3 separate regions of the Homo sapiens genome follow, and regions 2 and 3 are each linked to region 1. The links are contacts of gene promoters, found by promoter capture Hi-C in blood cells and fetal thymus (Javierre and others, 2016). All regions are on one chromosome and are shown on one strand. Each heading gives the region's core, a stretch centred on a gene start or on the middle of the fragment in contact. The rest is flanking DNA. Distances are from core to core; before and after follow the strand shown.

What was found. The method cuts DNA at HindIII sites, captures the fragments that hold promoters and counts their contacts. A CHiCAGO score of 5 or more calls a contact.
Region 2: a fragment that was not itself captured here is called in contact with the fragment with the promoter of SKA1 in region 1 in 15 of 17 cell types (naive CD4 T cells, non-activated CD4 T cells, total CD4 T cells and 12 more); the score reaches 14.0 in naive CD4 T cells.
Region 3: a contact is called between a fragment that was not itself captured here and the fragment with the promoter of SKA1 in region 1, in 3 of 17 cell types (naive CD8 T cells, monocytes and total CD8 T cells). The highest score is 6.9, in naive CD8 T cells.

What each region holds. Positions count from the first base shown.
Region 1 is chr18:50,373,253-50,377,406 of GRCh38, forward strand. It overlaps SKA1 (spindle and kinetochore associated complex subunit 1), which reads left to right and starts at 1,794. Exons shown (of 7, transcript NM_145060.4): 1 at 1,794-1,942; 2 at 2,568-2,666. The coding sequence starts at 2,579. LOC105372114 (a long non-coding RNA gene) reads right to left here and starts at 1,626. Exons shown (of 3, transcript XR_935466.3): 1 at 1,343-1,626. RefSeq lists a silencer at 287-581. The HindIII fragment of the contact is 8,258 bases long and covers 1-4,154 here.
Region 2 is chr18:49,501,552-49,505,705 of GRCh38, forward strand. The region is part of intron 2 of LINC02837 (long intergenic non-protein coding RNA 2837); the gene reads left to right. Among named protein-coding and RNA genes, the nearest start is that of LINC02837, 4.3 kb to the left of the region's middle. The HindIII fragment of the contact is 1,708 bases long and covers 1,051-2,758 here.
Region 3 is chr18:49,809,012-49,813,165 of GRCh38, forward strand. All of the region lies in intron 1 of ACAA2 (acetyl-CoA acyltransferase 2), which reads right to left. Among named protein-coding and RNA genes, the nearest start is that of ACAA2, 2.4 kb to the right of the region's middle. The HindIII fragment of the contact is 1,501 bases long and covers 1,199-2,699 here.

The DNA of each region.
Region 1 (4,154 bases), core at 544-3,043:
CCTGAAGTAACTGAAGAATCTCAAAAGAAGTGAAAATGGCCTGTTCCTGCCTTAACTGATGACATTACCTTGTGAAATTCCTTCTCCTGGCTCATCCTGGCTCAAAAGCTCCCCCACTGAGCACCTGGTGACCCCCACCCCTGCCTGCCAGAGAACAACCCCCTTTGACTGTAATTTTCCTTTACCTACCCAAATCTTATAAAACGACCCCACCCCTATCTCCCTTAGCTGACTGTCTTTTCGGACTCAGCCCGCCTGCACTCAGGTGAAATAAACAGCCTTGTTGCTCACACAAAGGCCAGTTTGGTGGTCTCTTCATACGGACATGAGTGAAAGTAACTGTCCAGATTACATTTTTTACAAAAGATTTTTTTCAGTCTCCTTCGCAGATGGGAGTGACCAGTGAGAAGCAGATGGAAGCCACTGGGTGTGGCTTCCAGCACAACGCTCTCAAAGTGCTGGTTCTGTTGGCAGTTAAGCCTATTACACATGCCTCTTGCTCGTTTCTGCTGCCTGGGAGAAAGACCTGAGGACAGGGGCTGGCAGCCTGAAGGTCCAAGTGCATAATAATAGCGCAGTGGAGCCAAGGGATGGACAGAACCTGGCGGTGCCACCACTCCAGCCTTGGGTGCTTTTCCCTCCTTTTCAACAGGGAGAATTAAACTTTTGTTTTTCTTATTTTAAATTTATATTTGCTCTTAAGTGGCAGGCCAGGTCTCACTAACAGCTGAACAGACAGGCCTCCGTAACCACTGTTTCAGCACTAGTTAAGTTAAATATTAAAAGCTGAAAGAGCCAGTGTCTTTATAGAAAGGCTGGTATGTAACAAAAGCCCACCAAGAGTTTTGCCCAGGCCTTTCCTGGTCCTTGAAGCATGAGAAAATAAAGAAGGAATTCTTAACAGGACCTGTTCAAGATTAAACAAGTTTTTATTGGGGGTCTGAAGAAACTCCCCCAGACCTCCACAAACAAGTTTATCGGGGGTCTGAAGGAACTGCCCAAACCTTCATGATTTAGCAGGAGACAAGATAAGGGTAATCACCTCTGGCACCTGCAGCCATCTAGATTAAGTAAATTTACTTAAATAAAGACCTTCCTTAGGACTGATCTTAGTTATAGATTAGAAACAGTTAATCATTTACGTCTTTACACACATGCACACTTACATGTAGACAGATAGTTTAGAAGGTATATAAGCTCTGGAAAACTTTGTAATTTTGAATCGATTTGGCGATATTTTCCAGGCCTTTTCCCTGTACCCGGTTACCGAAATAAACTCTTCTTTCCCAGTTCATCATGAGAATAAGCAGCCCAACCCCTGGTTTGGCCCGGGAACACTTACAGAGGCTGTCTAAGACCCAGAAGACAGGGTCACTGTTTCTTCCACACAAACTTAGCTGCTCTTTGGAATTTTCTGGGGTGTTTTTATAAATACTAAGGCTTGTGCCTCATTTCCCCAGTGTCTGATTTCACCGACTTGGGGTGTACTCTAGGCACTGAGACTTGTAATAGCTGCCCCTGGTGACTCTAAGGTGCAGCAAATGTCAAAGACCAGGACTTGGTGACGCCAGGTCCCTGGCTGGGCTGCGGTCAAGACTGCATGACCTGCTGAAATCTCCCCAGACTGGTTAGCGCGGAAAGAGCACCTCCGGGTTACCCTTTCGTCCGGAAGCCCCGCCTTCGCCGTCGCCCCGCCTTTCCCCGGCTCGGCCACCCCTCCTTCCCGCCCAGCTGTGGCCCCGGATGACGCAAACCGGGAACAGCGGCTGAGCCTGCGCTTCGGAAGCATGGATGTGCGCCTGCGCTGCGCTAGGGCGCGGCGGGCGGTTTGAATTTTGCTTACAGAGTCCCGTCTCACCATCCTGGGCTTCCAACGGAGACTGCGGTATCCGCAGCTGGAGACCCAGCGGCGAGTAGCCTTTTGCTCCCGGACGGACTTGAGGTTGGAGTCTGTGTGTTGGGGACCCTGCCTTTGGAAGCGCCCGAGGTAGCTGCTTGGCAGCTGGGGGCCGCGGACCGCGCCGGGCTTGGGGGAGGACGGGGCTGGAGGCTGGGTTGGATGCTTTAGACCCTCCCCTTCTCTCTCACCGGCGGAGTGGGTGGGAAACTGGTTCTTTCCCATTTCTCGGCCTCCTTACCGATCCCAAACTGTAAAGCCCCAACCCCTCACAGCACAGGAAAAATGATTACCTGGGCCCATTTCTTTGACAGTGTAACACATTTTTAAAAAATGTGTCCTTATTTTGCGTGTTTAAAGAAAATACCAATGTTGTCTTTATATACAAATAGTGCGTTTGTCCTCCTGAATCCTTAAGGAAAGGACCCAGGCTTATCCTCTTTCCCCTGGTTTGGGATCCATCGATGGCCTAAGGCTCTAAGACAAGTCAGTACGGTACCGTGGTTAGAAACTGAATGTTGTAGAAATGAAAGAAATTGCTCTTGAATTTTTGTGCTTAACCTTCAAAGACATGTGATTTACTTGACATTGACCATTCTTGGATTTCGAAAGTGAACAGAAATTTGTGTGGCTTTTCTTGTTACGAATATGTTTATGTTTTTTTCTTCAGAGGCTTAAAGGATGGCCTCGTCAGATCTGGAACAATTATGCTCTCATGTTAATGAAAAGATTGGCAATATTAAGAAAACCTTATCATTAAGAAACTGTGGTAAGTAAAACAGATTCCACTGACTTTGTATATACAAAATGCATTTTGATTATTCCACTCTGAATGATATCTTTGCTTGGTTAAGTGACTGCATCTTAGGTAATTTTAGATTTTTGCATAACGATTTTTTAAATAGTCCAATGTCATTTTGAATATTGTGGAGGATACTAAAAATGTAAGGTACATTGAACAATGAACTGAATATTCATTAGAATTATTTACTTATGTTTTTCTGAGACACATAGGCCAATGGTGAGATTTGAAGGTTATGTGGCATCCATGGTTCTACAGCTAAATAGAGATACAGTCATGCGTTCCTTAATGATGGAGATGTGTTCTGACAAAAGCGTTACATGATTTTGTCGTTGTGCAAACATCACATCATAGAATGTACGTAAATGTACACAAACCTAGATGGTATAGCCTACTACATATCTAGGCTATATAGCCTATTGCTCCTAGGCAACAAACCCGTATAGCATGTGACTGTACTGAATACCTTAGGCAAGTGTAACACAATGGTGAGTATTTGTGTATCTAAACATAGAAAAGATACAGTAAAAGATTAAAAATGGAACACCTGTATAGGCCACTTACCATTGATGGAGCTTGCAGAACTGGAAGTTGCTGTGGGTGAGACAGTGACTGTGAGGGCCTAGGACATCACTGTATACTACTGTAGGCTTTATAAGTACTATACACTTATGCTACACTAAATTTATAAAAAATGAAAAACTTTCTTCAATAATACATTAACCTTAGCTTACTATAACTTTTTTACTTAATAAACTTCTTAGTTTGGCTTAGCTTTTTTATTCTTTTCTAATAGCTTAAAACAAATACATTGTACAGGTGTACAAAAATATTTTTATATCTTTATGAGCTTTTTTTCTATTTTTTTTTAACTTTTTAAAATTTTTTTGTCAAAAACGAATACACACACACACACACATTAGCCTAGGCCTATGCAGGGTCAGGATCATCAACATCTGTCTTCCACATTCACATCTTGTTCCACTAGAAGGTCATCGGGGCAGTACCACACATGGAGCAGTCATCTGTGATAACAATGCCTTCTGGAATATCTCCTGAGGGATCTGCCTGAGGCTGTTTTACAGTTAACTTTTTTTTTTTAATAGGTAGAAGGAGTACACTCTAAAATAACAATACAAAGTATTGTATAGTAAATAACATAAACTAGTAACCATTTATTATCAATTATTATGTACTATACATAATTGTATGTGCTGTACTTTTGTAATACTGGCATTAGAGTTTGTTTACACCAGCATCACCACAAACATGTGAATAATGCATTGTACCATGATGTTATGATGGCTCCGATGTCACAAGGCAATAGGAATGTTTCAGCTCCGTTATAATCTTATGGGGCCACTGTCATATTTATGGTCCATTGTTGACTGAATCACTGTTATGTGGCACATTATTAAAAGGCAAGTTAAAAAAACTGATGTAGAGCTCCATAGG
Region 2 (4,154 bases), core at 655-3,154, 870 kb before region 1:
AGCAGCTCCGTGGACCTGTGCAAATCTCTACCCAGCTTTGTTGGACAACAAAATACCCTGGAGAATATCAAGCCCTTTAACATACCCAGTTTGTGCTCCCAGACGTAAGATCTCTTTGGCCATGTATGTGGGATTCCCATGAAGGAGAAGCTTCATTTCCAGCAAGAATCTGGCTTCCACCTAGACTTGGGAAACAGATACTGAAAAGCATATTGCTGATCAACTAGACAACCTACTTCCACTCTTGATTGCCCCTGTAATCCATCTAGAACAGCCAGAGCAATTTATTTATTAAAAAATTTAAAATTGGCCAGGTGCGGTGGCTCACGCTTGTATCCCCAGCACTTTGGGAGGCCGGGGTGGCAGATCACTTGAGGCCAGGAGTTAAGATCAGCCCGGCCAACATGGTGAAACCCTGTCTTTACTAAAAATAGAAAAAGTTGCCAGGCAAGATGCCTTACGCCTGTAATCCCAGCACTTTGGGAGGCCAAGGCAGGTGGATCACGAGGTCAGGAGATGGAGATTATCTTGGCTAACACGGTGAAACCCCATCTCTCTCTACTAAAAATACAAAAAATTAGCCGGGCATGGTGGCACACGCCTGTAGTCCCAGCTACTTGGGAGGCTGAGGCAGGAGCATGGCTTGAACCTGGGAGGCGGAGGTTGCAGTGAGCCGAGATCGCACCACTGCACTCCAGTCTGGGTGACAGAGCGAGTCTCTGTCTCAAAAAAAAAAAAGAAAAAGAAAAAAGAAAAGAAAAGAAAAAATTAGCCGGGCATGGTGGTGCGTGCCTGTAATCCCAGGTACTCGGGAGGCTGAGGCAGGAGAATCTCTTGAACCCGGGAGGCAGATGTTGCAGTGAGCCAAGATCGCACCATTGCACTCCAGCCTGGGTGACAGAGTGACTCCATCTCAATAAATAAATAAATAATAAGTAAAATTTTAAAATTATTCAAAAATTTAAGATTATTTATATGTGTTTTATAGAAAGTCAGATATAGCAGGTAAGCAGATTAAGAAAATAAAATCCTTATATTTCCAAAAGATTAAGCTTTAATATATCCTTCTAGTATAGTGTGAGATATATACTTCATGTGTGTATGTATATACATATATACTTACCAGGTGAAATTATACTGTACATGCTATTTCATAATCAGATTTTTTTCCAGTTAATCTCAATTTTACCATGTTGATACATTTTCATCTCTTCTAATACCTAACCTCAATTTCAGTTATCCCAGTTGTTCCCCAAATGTCCTTTCCAGTTGGTTTGTTCAAAGCAAGACCCGCCAGGCACACTGACTCACACCTGTAATCCCAGCACTTTGGGAAGCTGAGGCAGGCAGATCACTTGAGGCCAGGAGTTCGAAACCAGCTTGGCCAACATGGTGAATCCCTGTCTCTACTAAAAATAGAAAAAATTAGCAGGGTGTGGTGGCACACACCTGTAGTCCCAGCTACTCTGGAGGCTGAGGCATGTGAATTGCTTGAAGCTGGGAGACAGAGGTTGCAGTGAGTTGAGATCATGTCACTACACTCCAGCCTGGGTGACAGAGCAAGGCTCTGTCTCAAACAAACAAACAAACAAACAAACCAACCAACCAAAGCAGCCACACACACACAAAAAAACCAGAAACAAAGCAAGACCCAATCTAGGTCCCACATGACATCTGGTTGTTGTTTCTTTTTATTTTATTTTTGAGACAGAGGCTTGCTGTCACCCAAGCTAGAGTGTATTGGCGCGATCTCGGCTCACTGCAACCTCTGCCTCCGGGGTTCAAGTGATTCTCCTGCCTCAGCCTCCTGAGTAGCTGGGATTACAGTCGCCCACCATCACGCCTGGCTAATTTTTGTATTTTTAGTACAGACTGGGTTTCACTATGTTGGCCAGGTTGGTCTTGAACTCCTGACCTCAGGTGATCTGCCCGTCTCGGCTTTCCAAAGTGTTGGGATTACAGGCATGAGCCACCGTGCCTGGCCAGGTTGTTCTCTTTCATAATCAGTTTTAGAATCAGAAAATTTAACATTTACTATAATAATATTATCTAACCTAGAGACCATATTTAATTGCCGCCAATTTTCCCAACAATATCTTTTATAGAATTTTTTTTGGACGAAGAGCCAAATTCAGAATAAGGCATTGTGTTTGGTTGCCATGTCTCTTTATTTTTCTTTAATCTGAATAGCTTGGCATTCTTTGTAAAAAGAGCTTTCTCTTATTAACTGGGGTGATTTGGTTGTCCTAAAATACAGTTTCTAGAACTATGATAACTATAACCAGAAAATGTAATCTTTAAAAAATATAAACTATATAATATAACACTCCCCACTTCTCTCCAAAGCACTTCCCAGGTTAAAACCCTTGAAAGACTTCACATTTCACACCCAATAAAGTCCAAACTGCTTACTGTGCTGTGCAGGCTGATCTAGCTCCAGGCCCTCATTTCCTATACTTTTCCTCTGCACTGACTTTGCTCCAGCCACATTGGCTCCTTGCTGCTTCAGGGATACAGTCAACTCATTCCTGTCTTGATGCCTTTGCTTTTGCCCTTCCTTCCAATGATTTACAACTAGGTCTTCACGTGTTGGCTTCTTCCAGTCACTGAAGCCTTAACTCCTTCCCTGACACTCAGTCTATGGAGCTCCTCTCTGACATAATCTTGTTTTATTGTCTTCACAACATATCTCACTGAATGAAATTATCACATTTATTAGTTTTCTTCTTAAATTTCTATCTCCTTTTCAAAAAATGTAAGCTTCATGAAGACATGGTTCTTTTTTTTTTTTTTTTTTTTTTCTGAGACAGAGCCTTGCTCTGTCGCCCAGGCTGGAGTATAGTGGCGTGATCTTGGCCCACTGCAACCTCCGACTCCCGGGTTTCGATGATTCTCCTGCCTCAGGTTCCCCAGTAGCTGGGATTACCGGCGCATGCCACCACGGCTAATTTTTGTATTTTTAGTAGAGAGGGGGTTTCGCCATTTTGGCCAGGCTGGTCTCGAACTCCTGAGCTCAGGTGATCCGCCCACCTCGACCTTCCAAAGTGCTGGGATTACAGGCATGAGCAACTGTGCCTGGCAGAAGACATAGTTCTTGTCTGTTTTTTTTTCCTCTAGTGCCTAGAATAATTTTTTTGTTTATGATAAGTTCTCAACAAATATTTCTTGAATTACAACATAATACTGGAAGTCCTAGCCAGAGCAATTAGGCAAAAGAAAGAAAAAAGGACATTCAATTTGAAAAGAAGGAAGTAAAATAGTCCCTGTTTACAGATGACATGATTTTATATATAGAAAAATCAGGCCGGACGCAGTGGCTCATGCCTGTAATCCCAGCACTTTGGGTGGTAGAGGATGGTGGATCACTTGAGGTCAGGAGTTTGAGACTAGACTGGTCAACATCGCGAAACCCTGTCTCTACTAAAAATACAAAAAAATTAGCTGGGCGTGGTGGTGCATGCCTGTAATCCCAGTTACTCAGGAGGCTGAGGTAGGAAAATCACTTGAACCTGGGAGGTGGGGGTTGCAGAGAGCCGAGATCACACCACCACACTCCAGCCTGGGCAACAGAGCAAGACTCTGTCTCAAAAAACGAGAAAAATATAAAGACTCTACTCAATAAGTCTCAGAACTAATAAGTGAATTTAGTAAAGTTGCAGGATACAAAATCAGTATTCAAAAACAAGTAGCATTTCTAGACACAAACAAGAAAAGAAATCAAGATGGCACAATGGTGTACGTCTGTAATCCCAGCTACTCGGGAGGCTGAGGCAGGCAGATTGCTTGAGCCCAGTAGTTCAGACCAGCTTGGGCAACATAGCAAGACTCCCATCTCAAAAAAAAGAAAAAAAATTTAAAAGGTAATCCCATTTACCATAGTTACACCCCAACCCCCCCCAAAAAAGCCCCAAACCCTAAGAATATTTTTTTTTTTTTGAGATGGAGTTTTGCAATTGTTGCCCAGGCTGGAGTGCAATGGTGCAATCTCAGCTCACTGCAACCTCCGCCTCCTGGGTTCAAGTGATTCTCCTGCCTCAGTCTCCCAAGTAGCTGGGATTATACCTGCCACCATGCCTGGCTAATTTTTGTATTTTTACTGGAGACAGGGTTTCACCATGTTGGCCAGGATGGTCTTGATCTCTTTACCTCATGAT
Region 3 (4,154 bases), core at 699-3,198, 560 kb before region 1:
ATTTATAGACCTCCCCCCAGGAATACAATTCTTTTCCTAGGGTCTTAACATTCCTTGCTAGGAAAAGAATTTAGTGATATCTCTCCTACTTGCATATCCGTTTATAGGCTCTCTGCAAGAAGAAAAATATGGCTCCTACTGCCCGACCCCGCAGGCAGTAAAGACCTTATGGTTATCTTCCCTTGTTCCCTAAAAATCGCTGTTATTCTGTTCAAGGTGCACTGATTTCATATTGCTCAAACACACGTTTTACAATCAATTTGTACAGTTAACACAATCATCACAGTGGACCTGAGGTGACGTACATCCTCAGCTTACGAAGATAACGGGATTAAGAGATTAAAGTAAGACAGGCGTTAAGAGTATTATTAGGGAAGTGATAAATGTCCATGAAATCTTCACAATTTATGTTCCTCTGCCACAGCTCTAGCCGGTCCCTCCATTCAGGGTCCCTGACTTCCCACAACAATGTCCTTCAACAGGTGAATGGATAAACAAACTGTGGTGCAGCCATACAATGGAATATTATTCAGCAATAAAAAGAAGTGAGCTATCAAGCCATAAAAGGAAGGAATCTTAAATGCATGTCGCTAAGTGAAAGAAGCCAGTCTGGAAAGGCCATATACTGTATGATTCCAACTACATGATATCTGGAAAAGGCAAAGCTATGGAGACAGTAAAAAGATCAGTGCTTGCCAGGGGTTCAGAGACAGGGATAAATAAGTGAATCACAGATGATGTTTAGGGTGGTGAAATTAATCTGCATGACACTATAATACTGACATCGGTCATTTGCACATTTGTCAAAACCCATAGAACTATACAATACAATGAATGAACTTGAATGCAAAATATGAACTTCAGTGAATAATAATATATCAATGTTAGCTCATCAATTGTAACAAATGTACCACACTAATGCAAAATGTTAATAATAGGGGAAACGGACCGGGCAAGGGAGCACATGGTAATACTCCGTACTTTCTGCTCAATTTTTTTGTAAAACCTAAATCTGCTCAAAAACAAAGTTTGTAAATTTTTTCTTTAAAGTCGGATAGTAAAAAAACACGGGCAGAACCTCAAGGACTAACAAGTTACAGTCATAGGAGAGGACAGAGAATGGATTTAAAAAAACATTTGCAGAAATAATAAAGAAGAAATTTCCAAATTTGATAAAAAACATAAATTTGTATATTAAAGCTTGGTAAACCTCAACTCTAATAAACACCACACGTAACACTCCACACCCCGTTCTCCTGCAGCTTGGCACATCATTGTCAAACTTTTGAAATCCAAAGATAACAAAAATATATAAAGCATCCAGAAATAAAAATGACATATTGCACACATGGAAATGACCCCTCACTTCTCAGAAACAATAGAGCCTAATTTCATTTGTCTCTCTACAAAGTTCCTTTTATGAACTTCTCCCCTATGTCTCATATTCTAAGAAAGCATTTGATAGGGCAGTGCTAGTAGTGAAATATGCAATATCTACAAAGGAAAGGGTGTGCATGGGAAAATAAAAACAAAAAAAAACCTCCCCTTTACCTATATTACTTCTTATTTGATGCTCCCAGACTGTAAAGGTTAGCTCAAGTAAGACCTTAACTGAACTAAAACAATTATTTTGAACAGAGAAAATGTTCTCAATCATATATTTTTGGTTTGGGTTTTTTTTGTTTGTTTGTTTGGAGGCAGGGTTTCACTCTGTCACCCAGGCTGAAGTGCGGTAGTGTGATCTTGGCTCACTGCAGCCTCAACCTCCTGGGCTCAAGCAATCCTCCACCACAGCCTCCCGAGTAGCTGGGACTACAGGCGAGTGCCACCATGCTTGGCTAATTTTTGTATTTTTTGTAGAGACTGGGTTTCTCTATTTTAAAAAATAATTTGTTATTATTATTTTAAATCTTCATTTTAACAAATAATCTGGGATGTGCAGATAGACTATAAAGGTTTAAAGTTTTTTTTTTTTAATTTCATAAATTGTATACCATGTCAATTTTCATTTGATGTCAATTTTACGTGGATACTAAAAGGTCTAAAACTTAACAATCTTTAACACCAAACTGAAATCTCATTTGAACACCCTGAAAATTCAGAGGCTAAAAATTTCCCAAAACTGAAAGACAGTGAAGAGACCTATTAACCCAGAGTGTAGTGAGTCCAAGTAGCTCCAAGAAAGGCCCTGGAAAGATGTGCTGAGTTGACAATACAGGAAAAGCACCACTAGGAAAGAAACAGGAGCACTACCTTTCTATCACATTGTTAGGTAAATATTCACTTAGAGCAACTTCAGGCAGCAACGAGGGCAAATTAAGGAAAGCTGCGGTGGCATCCAGTTGTTTCAAGATTAAGGTAATTTAGCAGCCCTGTCTACTTGCCTTGAAAAAATACACAAACATTCCCAACAAAGCTAGGAGCAGTAGGAGAGCTATGATCTGTCGAGCGAAAACCTCCTGCCAAGTACTGGGATGGGTGCTAATAAAAACCTAGGAGCCGGTTCTTCTTGTTGACTGAAATCTGACAAATTAATGTTAATCCTTAACAAAATTTAACTCAAATGTGTCCTTTTCCCTATAATCAGTCACATGCTCTTCTTTCTTCCCACCCATCCTGCAAACACTTGGTATGCTGCTTGAGAGAAGTTTATCTTTAATGATTCTAGCTGGCCTGTAACATCACTATTTCAAGCTCAAAGCTTGGGTTCTAGTCACAGCCACTAACTACCTGTGTTATTATACACAACCACTTTACCTCTCTCGACATGAGTGTCCTCCTAATTGCTACAATAAGGAAATGGAAAAAAATACGATCACTAGCTCTAACACTACAGTAAATTGTACCAGAAATTTATAAACTTTATACTTCCTTAATACAGGTGTCAATGTGCATTTTTTTCCTTTTTGGGTTTATAGTATTTGTGAAATTTTCAAACAGGTCTGTATTATAAGAAAGGGTAAGAACCACTGATAAAATATTAAAATGATATCAGTAAAAATATTATTTCCTTTTTTAGAAGATAGCTCATGACAATGCACCTTTTAAATGAAGTGTAAATGCCTCGTCTAAAAAAAATTCACCACGCTGCTTTATGAAGTAAATGTAGTAAATTCAGTCAGGAAGGGCACTGGCAAATGAAATCCACGTTGCAGGAAACTGTAAACACTGCATTTGGTCCCAGAATACGGATTTTTCCCTTGATTTGTTCCCATGCCACTTTGGTTCTTCTCACTTTCAGATCCCCCTAACCAATGCTTAGCTGGCATCTCCACTTGGCTGCTTCACAGGCACCAAAAAGTTTTCTGCCTAAAACTGAATTCTCAATCCTTCTTTCCACATCTATTCCTTTCCCAATTTTCCTCACTCTGTAAAGTGGCATCATCATGAACACGGTTCATCAAACCAGACACTTTTCATCATTCTCGACATTTCCTTCTTATATTTACTCCACCACATCCAATCCACTTTCTATCAAATCCACCTCCAAATCTATCTCAACTCATCCCTCCCCTTTTCTCCCCAATTACACTGCCCCACACGAGTCAAAGCCATCATTTGCTGCTCCCTGGACCTCTACAATAGATCCTTAAATGGTCTCTTCGCCATTACACAGACCGCCCCAAATTCGGACAGAGTGGAAATCAGATCCTGTCATTACCCCGCTTTAAATCCCTGTATTGCCTTCCACTGAATTTGGAACAAAACCCCACCTTCTTACAGAGCCCACAGGGCCCTGGAGCACCAAAATGCTTGGTTCTTAGATCCTGCCAAGCTTTTTCCTGTCTCAGGGCCTCGATATGTATTCCACCTCAATGTTCTTCGACTCGTACATCCTTAAAGTAAGATTCCATTGACTGTGCCCACTTGTTTTGAAAAGGGAGTTTATTACACAGTTGTTTTAAACAAGTTCATAACCCTAGAACTTAGGTATAGAGTGACCGCTCTAATCTAAAGCAACAGAAGGGAAATGGGAGCAGGGCAGGTCTTCCAGCAGAACACCAGCTACCATTTCTGCAGGCCTCTCCATCGATTCACCCGGGGAGCCCTGACCACCGAGGCCGAGCGGCGGGCTCCTGTGCGCAGCTGCCCCGCAGCAGGCGCCCGCGGCCTATGGCGCCGCCCCATTTTTTCTAATACTTGGACTCGAACTA